2 separate regions of the Homo sapiens genome follow, and region 2 is linked to region 1. The links are contacts of gene promoters, found by promoter capture Hi-C in human tissues and cell types (Jung and others, 2019). All regions are on one chromosome and are shown on one strand. The core of a region is centred on a gene start or on the middle of the fragment in contact, and the rest is flanking DNA. Distances in the headings are between cores, read along the strand shown. Region 1 holds the start of NKX2-5 (NK2 homeobox 5). Region 2 overlaps CREBRF (CREB3 regulatory factor).

The links. Contacts are between HindIII fragments. The study calls those that stand out against the background at their distance.
Region 2: a fragment that was not itself captured here is called in contact with the fragment with the promoter of NKX2-5 in region 1 in 1 of the 25 tissues and cell types used here (bladder).

The regions. Positions count from the first base shown.
Region 1 is chr5:173,233,664-173,239,301 of GRCh38, reverse strand. It overlaps NKX2-5 (NK2 homeobox 5), which reads left to right and starts at 4,096. Exons shown (of 2, transcript NM_004387.4): 1 at 4,096-4,552. The coding sequence starts at 4,219. RefSeq lists enhancers at 27-600, 5,417-5,638. The HindIII fragment of the contact is 11,596 bases long and covers 1,090-5,638 here.
Region 2 is chr5:173,066,529-173,072,778 of GRCh38, reverse strand. All of the region lies in intron 1 of CREBRF (CREB3 regulatory factor), which reads right to left. Among named protein-coding and RNA genes, the nearest start is that of CREBRF, 13 kb to the right of the region's middle. The HindIII fragment of the contact is 7,444 bases long and covers 97-6,250 here.

The DNA.
Region 1 (5,638 bases), core at 2,847-5,346:
CCCCTGGCTGCGGGGTGGGGGGTGATGGTGGGGGTCTTGCTCTTCCTCCAGTTGGTACGGTCTTGGGCGCAGCGACGTGTAATAAAAGAAAACAGTCTCAGCTGTGCAGTCAGCTGTGTGTTCGAATCCTAACACCCTGACACTGTCCTTTCCCATCTGTGTGACCCTGAGCAACTTACTCCACGTCTCTGAACCTCATTCTCCTCAGGCCTGCAGTCGGAATAAGAGGATCCGTGACGAGATCCGTGAGAGCGCCTGGCACACCCCGTGGGCACTGAACAAGCGTGGAAATGAGAAGGATTTGGTGCCAGCTGAGCCACCTGAATGAGGCGAGTCCCGAGGCAGGAAAAATCCGGTGCCGCGGAGGCCGCCTGGACTCTTCCGGAGCCAAGGGCGAGGTCGGCGGCCCTCAGAGTCGCCCCCCGCCCCCAACTCCCGGCCAGGAAGGAAGCCGGGCGGCGGAGGGGCCCAGCGCGGAGGCGGAGGCGGAGGCGGAGGCGGAGGCCGAGGCCGGGAGTCCGGCGCGCAGCCGGAGCTGCTCATCCATCAGCCGGACGAAGAGCAGAGTCGCGCTCTCGGCCCTCTGTTTGCTTTCTCGCCAATTATTGCAGCGCCGCAGCCCCTTTGTTGATACAGTAGTCCGAAAAAGTGCTAATGTTCATTTATCAGGGGGCCAGCCGGGGACTCCCACGAGTTGCGATTCTTCCCAAAATATAAACATGGGGCGAGCGTCCCAGACAGAAACTCCCATCTGTTTCCCCCGCGCGGGCCGAGAGCGAGGCGTTGTTGAAGATAAAGCCGCGGATAACGCCGCCTGTCTCCAATGGACGTCTCCCCAGCGCATTAATGACATTCCCGGTGATAGTTCCAGCTTATCTTTCAATTAATCATATATACCTTTTGCGACCAGCCCTGCTGATTGCACGAAAGGGGGGCCGGCTCCGGCTGCGCCGATCGCTTTTCAATTAATAATAATTTATTCACGGAGAATGCGCTCGAGCCACCCTGGAATTTGGATTATCTTAAAGCACCAACTCTTTAAAAGTCAAGGAAATACACAGATAGATTTTCGATCTCTTCTCTCTCCTTTTGTCTCTCTCTGCCTTTCTCTAGGCTGAAGGCTGTTTGTTTGTCCTGCTAGTTTGGTCAAAGTGCGGCGCAGAGAGGCGGCCAGGTTGGGTCAGCGGCCCTTGGGAAAAAAAGATGTGTCCCTGTTGGGGGCCAGAGAATCAAGTTTCCTCCCACCCAACCCCCAACTATTGCAATTTCTATTTAGATCTATTTAGAGGGATTTTTTTTTAACTCACTCGGAAACAGTGAGGACTGGAAAGAAAAGCTGCAAATGGCTCTCGGACTTTCCTCTAAGGAGACCAGCATGGGTCGCCCCAATTTCTATTTTGCACGTATTTGTCCGTTTTTGCCCCATCTCCTCTCTCCTGCAACACCAAGACCTTTTTGGAAGCCAAGAGAAATCATTACCCGATTCACAAAGAGCATAGAGAGTGTAACAGTCACTGATCTTGTTCAAATAGGGAGAGTTTTTTTTCCTTCCCTTTTTGTAACACCTGACCCACAGGACTGACAGTTCTAGGAAGCCCCCTTACCCGAAAATAGGAAATAAATCCTTGCCACCTTGATTTGCAAGGGCAATGCTAATTTTTTTCTTTCTCCAGAGCTCTCAAAAAAAAAAAAAAAAAAACCTTACTAAAAACAGGGATCCCGGATGTAGCCTCGATGTCCCCCATTAAACGGTAATATTTCAGGCGTCCGCTCACACTAATCTTTCAAACTGTCATCGCGAGCCGCCTGGCCAGCAGATTCACTTAACAGCGCTCCCAGGACCCTCGTTCCGAGCTCTTTTCAGCGAGACATTTAATTGAATCGGATGTGGCTCGTTTGCCAGACGTCACCGCCTCGGCGATAGGCATCCTCTCCAACGACACCCCCCCCCGCCCGCGCTCGAAAACAATCTTCAAAGGCAAGGCGGGCCCCCAAGCTAGGTTAATTTACAGCCATAACGGTAACGTGGCCAAAAGTCCAGGCGAGGAAGGGCCGCAAGGCCGCTGACATGCAGCTCCGTCCAAGGAGAATTTGGGTTGGGAGGTGAAGAGGTGGGGGGACGAGGTTTCCTGGGCCTTGAACGCCCCACATTTAAGAAAAGGCATCCTCCACAGACTAGACTAACAATTCCAGACCCCCAGTAGTCCCTGGCTCAGAAACTCGAGGCGTGATTTCGGCGTGGCAGCCCAGGCCTGTTACTGACGGCTGGCGCCTAGAAGCCGGGGTCAGGGCGTTGCGCGCCTCCTGGGCTGCCCTGCGGGGCTCACCTCTCTCCCCAGCATGGAGGCCCCAGGTCCTGGGAGTGTGGCTTTGATGAGGGACAGGAAAAGTCCCAACATCAGGCCAATGCTTGACTTCACTTGCGTCGGCGTCTCAGACGGCACACTGTCGGGTTTGAGCACCCAAGATGTACGTTCTGGACAGACACTATTTTGTCCCCATACATGGAGCGTTTCCTCCGCACCTTGGGCGCGCCTGCGGGAGCTGTGTCTTTAGGTAGTTTTTGGCCCTGCGCCGCCTTTATTCTACTCCAAGCGCCTCTTGCCAACCCGCACTCCGCAAAGAGCCAAGCCCTCCACATCCCCATTCTCAGCAAGTCCACGCGTCCCGCCCAGCTTCCCGCCCGCGGTTCCCTGTACCAGCTAGGGCCGTGAGAAGCCAACGCTTTTCCACTGACAAATCCTGTCATCCCCAGCTCTAGAAGGCGTCCTTAACCTGGGCCCGCTCTGCCTGCCCGGACTCCTGAATTGTAAGCAAAATAAAACTCCTCTCTGCAGTGTTCTGGGGAATGGAGAAGACCCCAAGCTTTCATCAGACCTCCCAAGGAGTGCGGGGACCCAGAGAAATGAGGCCACCCGGGCAGGATCTGGCCATGTAGCTGGCGCTCCTGAAACTCTGGCAGATTTGTCTGACTTCTGTGCCCTACTCTACTGACCCTGGGCTAAAAATGATCATGATCACCCCACTTGCCCTGCCCTTCCCCCACGCGCCTGACCGAGCCGCAGGGGTGCCCCACTGGAAGTCCGGCCCAGAGGCCTCAGAGAAATCCTGGCCTAGCTGGGCTCAGAGGAGCCCCGCCTCCCTGAGAGCTAAACCTGGGCTAGGACCCTGAAACCTCGAGGTTGGCAGAAGCCTGAGGGCCTTGCTGCCAGGCAGGGAGGGCACGGGAAGGAGGGAGGTGGGATCGATGGCCTCCAAACAGGGGAAACAAGGTGGCTGGTAGCTGGGGCACTCCACAAGACAGGTGTCTCCTGGGAAGCTGAGCTTACCAGCTGGGATTCCTGATTTATTTCATTATTAAGGGGAGAGGCATTTCCCTGGGAGGGTACTGGCAGTGACTGATGCCCCCTGGAGTTGTGCTGTGCATAACACTACTGTAGGAGGCAGCAACTCCTACCCCACCTGGCCATCACTCACCTTGCCCTTACTTTCGTTGACTCGCCCAGAAGCACCCAGAGCCTGCGGCATGACTGACCCTGTAGGCCAAGCCAAACCAAACCCCCGAATTGTCCAGAATCTCGCCCTGCTGCTATCCCCAAAGCCAGCCCTGTCCTCCAGGCTTCTCTTCCTATTCAGACTCTCCCTCATCCCACCACCTTCAGTAATAAAGCCTTCCTCAAATCACTCTCCTCCCCACCGCTTCCCACCCCATCCTTCTCTCTCCCATGCTGGTTTGGGTGCTGAGGAATATTTCTTCAAACCCACACCCATCCAGCCCTGCCCAGAGGCCTGACTCTGCATGCCTCTGGTAGGCTTTTCAGGCTCACATTAGGGAGCAAACGCAGGCTGCAGGAGCAAAAGGAGACCCTTCCAAATGCGTCGTGGCCCCTTTAAAAAAGCTGGGCAGGGCTTTTTTTTTTTTTTTTTTTTTTTTTTTTTTTTTTTTTTTTTGCCGTATGACTATATTAGGTGACACGAAACTGCTCATCGCTCCTGTCATCGAGGCCCCTGGCCCAATGGCAGGCTGAGTCCCCCTCCTCTGGCCTGGTCCCGCCTCTCCTGCCCCTTGTGCTCAGCGCTACCTGCTGCCCGGACACATCCAGAGCTGGCCGACGGGTGCGCGGGCGGGCGGCGGCACCATGCAGGGAAGCTGCCAGGGGCCGTGGGCAGCGCCGCTTTCTGCCGCCCACCTGGCGCTGTGAGACTGGCGCTGCCACCATGTTCCCCAGCCCTGCTCTCACGCCCACGCCCTTCTCAGTCAAAGACATCCTAAACCTGGAACAGCAGCAGCGCAGCCTGGCTGCCGCCGGAGAGCTCTCTGCCCGCCTGGAGGCGACCCTGGCGCCCTCCTCCTGCATGCTGGCCGCCTTCAAGCCAGAGGCCTACGCTGGGCCCGAGGCGGCTGCGCCGGGCCTCCCAGAGCTGCGCGCAGAGCTGGGCCGCGCGCCTTCACCGGCCAAGTGTGCGTCTGCCTTTCCCGCCGCCCCCGCCTTCTATCCACGTGCCTACAGCGACCCCGACCCAGCCAAGGACCCTAGAGCCGAAAAGAAAGGTGAGGAGGAAACACAGGCCCCCTTCTCCCCTCCTGGGTCGCTTTCGTCCCCAAGAAACTCAGGGCCAGGAGGAGGAGACACGCGCCCTTGGGCCGAGGGCTGGGCTGCGGCGGGGGGTTCAGAATGTAAGATGCCTGGTGTTGTCGCCAGGCTCCCGCGCCCCGCGTCCAATCGGAGGTTCAGAGGAAATGCCGGATTGAAAGGATCAGAAGCAAGAGACCAAAAAACGTTTCCCCCCGGCCTAACAAAGCCCCGGGCGGCTTCGGCTCTGCTCCTGGGTCTGGTAGGAAGTTGAGAAATCGGTTTATGGTAGACAGAACAGAGAGACAAGCAGATAATCTCTGTTTTTAAATCTCCTTTGGATTTACGAATCTTTTTAAAGATCTGATGAGAACCGCTAAACAGAAATTGAAATGTTGCTCACCAGACAGCTTTTGCGTACAATCGGAGGAGGGTCCTGGACCTTCTTTCTGCAGCCCACCCACGACCCGGGTTTCTGGTGCCTTTCTTTCTTTGCGCCAGGAAAGTGGAGTCTGGGATCGAGGGCCTTGATTTTAAAATGGGATACTGCGGACCCTCAGGAATCTGACTTCACTTTATTTTTTCAGCACAACTTGCCGGCGCGGCCAGGGCGGAGAGGTTCCCTCGTGGAAAAGTTAGGAAATGCTGCGCTACCGCGGGCACAAGGGAGTGGACGAGATGAGTGCGGGATCATCCCGCAGGCCATCCCAGGATCGGGGAGGGAGGCCGGCCCCGCTGCAGAAAGGGGCCTTCTGGGAGACCCCCCAGCCCAAGGCAGGAGCCCGGGCGATTCCCGGGAGGCCGCAGGCGCTGGGCGAAGCGCTGGGCGAAGGGCCGCTGCCAGCCGGGAGAGAATTCATAGGTTTGTTGAGGAGCAGAGGCCTGGGAACAAATTCGGGCGGGCACGGCGGCTAGAACTGATCGCTACCAATTCGAGGAAGCCAGCAAGGCAGGTTCCGAGGCCGCCTGCCCACCCGCAGCTTCTTGGACACTGCGCAAACCCTGCTGCGGCCAGGCTGGAGCCTCCGATCACCAAACCAACACTCCCTGGCCTTCTGTTTCTT
Region 2 (6,250 bases), core at 2,569-5,068, 170 kb after region 1:
ACAGTCTTCCTGTCTCTATCCTCCTCTCCCTCTCTTGAGTTCTTATGCCCCATTTTAAAATTATTCTTATGCCAATAATCCTAGCACTTTGGGAAGCCGAGGCAGGAGGATTAATTGAGGCCAGGAGTTTGAGACTGGTCTTGGAAACATTGTGAGACCCTGTCTCTACAAAAAAAAAAAAAAAAAGTAAAAATCAGCCAGGCAGCTAGGTACAGTGACTCACGCCTGTAATCCCAGCACTTTAGGAGGCCAAGGCAGGCAGATCACGAGGTCAGGAGATGGAGACCATCCTGGCTAACACGGTGAAACCTCGTCTCTACTAATAAACAAAAAAAATTAGCCGGGCGTGGTGGCCAGTGCCTGTAGTCACAGCTACTCAGGAGGCTGAGGCAGGAGAATGGCATGAACCCGGGAGGCAGAGCTTGCAGTGAGCCCAGATTGCGCCACTGCACTCCAGCCTGGGCGACAGAGCAAGACACTGTCTTAAAAAAAAAAAGGGATAAAAAAATTAGGCATGGTGGCACATGCCTATAGTCCTAGCTACTCAGGAGGCTGAGTCAAGAGGATGGCTTGAGCTCAGGAGTTCAAGACTGTAGTGAGCTATGATTGTGCCACTGCACTTCAGCCTGGGCAACAGTGTGAGACTCTGTCTCTTAAAAAAAAAGGAAAAATTTTAAATTTAATAATTATTAAAAATTAATGAAAATTATTAAAATAATTTTTTGAGACAGGGTCTTGCTCTGTCACCTACACTGGAGTGATGTGGAGTGATCTCAGCTCACTGCAACTTCCACCTTCCAGGCTCAAGCAGCCCTCCCACTTCTGCCTCCCAAGTAGCTGGGAATACAGGCACATGCCACCATGCCTGGCTAATTATTGCATTTTTTTTTTAGAGAGGGTTTCAACATGTTACCCAGGCTGGTCTCGAACTCCTGGGCTCAAGCAATCGCCTGCCTTGGCCTCCCAAAGTGCTGGAATTACAGGCATGAGCCACCATGCCCAGCCTAAAATAATTATTAATATAAGATAAAATTATTCTTTCTAACCTACCACACGTCATATTAACACTGTGCTCCAAAGTCATCAGCAACTCCCATACATTTCTTGGATAATGTCCAAACTACTCAGACCTTAGGCCAGACACAAGTGGCTCATACCTGTAATCCCAGCACTTTGGGAGGCTGAGGCAGGAGGATCACTTGAGCCTAGGAGTTTGAGAGAAGCCTGGCCCACAAAGTGAGACCTAGTCTCTTAAAAAAACAAAAACAAGGCCGGGCACGGTGGCTCATGCCTGTAATCCCTGCACTTTGGGAGGCCAAGATGGGTGGATCACCTGAGGTCAGGAGTGTGAGACCAGCCTGGCCAACATGATGAAACCCCATCTCTACTAAAAAGAAAAATTAGCTGGGCGTGGTGGCTCACACCTGTAATCCCAGCTATTCAGAAGGCTGACGAAGGAGAATCGTTTGAACCCAGGAGGCGGAGGTTGCAGTGATGCGAGATCATGGCGCTGCACTCCAGCTTGGGCAACAAAAGCAAAACTCCATCTCAAACAAACAAACAAAAATACTCATACACAATGACACTATCTTTCCAACTCTGTCTTCCACTACTCTTAAGTCTAATATTAGACTGATTTTACCATTTCCCCTAATCCTCAAGATAGTTACAATCCCACTTTACTCCACTAAGAACTTCCAGTAGTGAGACTGACCTTCATGTCTTAGCTCATATTTTTCATCTTCTCTCCTATTCCCTTGCTTCCACTACCAGACTGTGACATCTTTGAGAATGACCATCATATCTCACATCTATTTCACTACAGTGCCAAATGCAATGCCCTTCCGAGCAGTCATCCACACAAGAGATGGCTGAAAATGAATGGGAAAATCCCCTAAGACCACATGTCCTTCTGGATAAGGAATCAAAGGTGTGGTGCTCTTCACAATGAGGACATTACAAAAAAGTCAATTATTCAATATATATTTATTGAGCATCGTTTATGTGCTCCAAAGCATCTTAGTTTGTTAAATTGAGTCTTGAACCACTGTAGTATCATATAGTAAAAATATGAAAAATTGTACTCCTGAATTTTTTTTAATTTCCAAGAAGAGTGATATTTAAATTTTAGTCCATTTTAAAGACCTGATGTAATTATTATCTAGGGAAGAGAGGACAGAGGAAGAAGTAGAATTAAATTTAATTTAAATCAACTGAATTCAGGCACTGGACCGATGCATGTTATATTGTTCTCTCCCTCGTCATTATTTTATTTTAATATTTTAAACTACAAAGCAGGAAGATAAACTCACCATAGTAAAACAAAATATTTTATGCAGGATGTTAAAGATTTTAGTTTTAAAGAATCACTTTGTTTTCTAAGCTGTTCTGCAGAAATCTATAAAATGTTAAAAAGAGAACAGTACAATTAATGGCAGCGGCATAAAAACAGGCAGTGGTGCAAGTGAGAATGCACTGGAGCACACAGCAGGATTCCAGTGACACCACACATTCTTCACACACTGTAACAACTTTGATGCTGTTGTTAGCAAGGATTTGAACTCTTCTTCAAAATTTACTGTAGGGGCAAGGTACAGTGGTTCACTGCCTATAATCCCAGCACTTTGGGAGGCCAAGGTAGACAGACCACTTGAGATCAGGAGTTCAAGACCAGCCTGGCCAACATGGCGAAACCATCTCTACTGAAAAGACAAAAATTAGTTAGGCGTGGTGGCACACACCTGTAGTCCCAGCTGCTCAGGAGGCTGAGGCATGAGAATCGCTTGAACTCGGGATTACAGTAAGCCGAGATCACGCCACTGCATTCCAGCCTAGACTACAAGAGAGATTCCGTCTCAAAAAAAAAAAAAATTGTTTCCTTCCTCCTTTCTCAGATTTGGCACCTTTTCAAAAGCAGCATGAAATATACTAGAGATATATTCAAATTCCTTCCTACTGTGAAGCAGGCTATACCACCAGCATAAACTACATAATAGCCAGTACAGAGGTTATTTGAACATGGTTTTGCAGTCATCTCTTTTAACACTGAGAAAAGCTCGGTGCCACTTTGGCTCTAACATTCCTAAAAAGCTTGCTTTATGAGGAACAAACTCTAGGTAAAAGGTTATGCATTGTGAGTGAATATTTTGAATTTCATGGCCAGGCATGGTGGCTCACGCCTGTAATCCCTGCACTTTGGGAGGCCAAGCTGGGTGGATCACTTGAGGCCAGGAGTTCGAGACCAGCCTGGCCAACATGGTGAAACCCCATCTCTACTAACAATACAAAAATTAGCTGGGTGTGGTGGCGCACATGTAATCCCAGGTATTCAGGAGGCTGAGATGGGGGAATTGCTTGAACCCGGGAGGTAGAGATTGCGGCACTGCACTCCAGCCTGGGTAACTGAGTGAGACTCTGTCTCAAAAAAAAAAGAAATATATTTAAAAAAAAGAATTTCATTCCAGACTCTCATCTGCCTTACTTTATGTATAAATGCAAGAATTCCCCATTATTTTGTGGGGATATTGTGATTCACAATAAAATAACATATAAAGTATCTAGCCCTAGCACAAAACAGACACTCAATAAATGGTGGCTATTTTTATTCTCAGATCTATTCCTTGGTATGTGATACTCCTGGGATGTTGCTGCTATTAAGGTATAAAACCAAACTCAACTCAGAATCCTTTTCTTTTTTTTTGTTTTTTGAGACGGAGTCTCCCTCTGTCGCCCAGGCTGGAGTGCAGTGGCGTGATCTCAGCTCACTGCAACCTCCACCTCCCAGGTTCAAGCAATTCTCCTGCCTCAGCCTCCTGAGTAGCTGGGACTACAGGTGCACGCCACCACGCTCAGCTAATTTTTTTTTTTTTTTCAGTACTGATGGGGTTTCACCATGTTGCCCAGGCTGGTCTCGAACTCCTGAGCTCAGGCAATTCGCCTGCCTCGGCCTCCCAAAGTGCTGGGATTACAGGCGTGAGCCACCGCGCCTGGCCCACTCAAAATCCTAAATTGTCTAAATTCCACATTCCACCAAGCTAGAACCAGGGTGAATATGGGATACTCAGGCAACACACGACACTTAACACCCTTGCCCCCAGGTTTATGAGGGTGTATGTCAATTATGCTGGTTTAATCAGCAAAAGAATCTCTGGACTCACAAAGTCATTCATAAAGCTGCAAACTAGTCATCTCTATACACAATAAAGAAATGGCAGATAAAGGGGAAAAGGCCTCTTTAGAAAGATTATTGCTCTTTATTGTTCAAACAATTACATATAATTTATCACTTTTTCATAGTTCATTATACTGGCTTCACCAAATGGCTCTGGACAATCTGAGCCATATGAAACAGAGTCATATAAAATTTGTATGTATATCTGTAACACCTTGCATAGTTTCTAATAAAGAGACACACAGAGTTTATACCATACTTGTCTCAAAAGTGTTGAGATAAATCAAACAAGTGAGGCAGATTATTCCAACTGCTGAGAAAACATAGCACTGAATATAATCAGCAGCTATCAGAGAAGGAGAAGTACATAGAGTAACCTGAACCTAGTTCCACTCCTCCATCAGGCAGTCAGTATTCTTAATATCCTTCCAATCAGACAAAAGAATAAAATTTACAGTAACTCGTTAGTTTTTAACTTGGGAATTTTGACAACCAGCAAGTTATTATGCTAATAAAACTAAGGTAAAAAGGACCTAACAAGTGCACTCTACTGGGAGGATATACATTTTAAAACAGAAGACAAAATTAACTGAAGATTTTTTTTTTTTGAGGTGGAGTCTCGCTCTGTCGCCCAGGCTGGAGTGCAGTGGAGCGATCTTGGCTCACTGCAAGCTCCACCTTCTGGGTTCACACCATTCTCCTGCCTCAGCCTCCCGAGTAGCTGGGACTACAGGTGCCCGCCACCACACCCGGCTTATTTTTTGTATTTTTAGTAGAGATGGGGTTTCACTGCGTTAGCCAAGATGGTCTCGATCTCCTGACCTCTTCTTGATCCACCCGCCTCAGCCTCCCAAAGTGCTGGGATTACAGGTGTGAGCCACGGCACCCGGCCAATTAACTGAAGATTTAAAGCCAAGGTCTCAAACTGTACTGCAGTGAGAAATCAACGCCCACAAATCAGTTGTGTTCAGTTGCAAATCAGTTGCATTAGTGTTTTTTAAATTGTAACTACCAGTATTTAAATTTCACATGAAATTTCATATAAAATTTGATGTCTGATCTCAAATACCACTCTTTTGGGGGAAAAAATTAGATCTGACATTGGGTATACATTCCCAGAAAGATGATCACTTGAACTAAAAAGAGGTATCCTCTTTAAATTGGCCTGTGCTCTCTAGCTTGCTTGAATCTCCACCCAGTCCCATTTTACAGATTATGAATCTAAGCTGAAAGATGCTCAAAACCACAGAACTAGCAAAATGCCTATTTATGAATGTTGGGTGTTCAGTCTTGACAGCTCTGCAACTCAACTTCCAAATAAAATGTAATGAATGTTAAAAGAGATATCTAAAAGACTTGTACATGAATATTTAAAGCCATTTTATTTATAATAGCCTAAAATCTGGAAGCAATGCAAATGTCTACCCACTGATAAACAGATAAATTGTGGTATGTCCATACAATGACAAAGGCTCAGGCCGAGCACGGTGGCTCAGGCTGAGAAAGGTGGCTCACACCTGTAATCCCAGTACTTTGGGAGGCTAAGGCAGGAGGACTGCTTGCAACCAAAAGTTCCAGACGAGCCTGGGAAACATGACAAAACCCCATCTCTGCAAAAAATCAAAAATTAATCAGGCATGATGATGGCACCTGTAGTCCCAGACACTCGTGAGGCTGAGGAAGGAGGATCACTCTAGCCCAGGAGGTCAAGGATACAATGAGCCATTATCACGCCACTGCACTCAGCCTGGGCAACAGAATGAGACCCTGTCTCAAAAAAAAAAAAAAAAAAAAAAAAAGATTCAATGAATATACGACACAATATGAGTATCTCAAAATCAATGTTAACTAAAAGAAGTCAGACTCAAAAGACAACACATTCTACCAAAAGATTTATATGAAATTTCAGAGAAGACAAAACAATAGTGATACAAAGCAAATCAGTGACTGGAGCCAAGGGCGAGTGCAGGAGAACTGAACAAAAGGGGCATGAGGAACTTTCTGTGGTGATAAAAATGTTAGAGATATAACAGTGGTTAGACGACAGCATGTGTTTGTCAAAACTCAAAATTGGTTGAA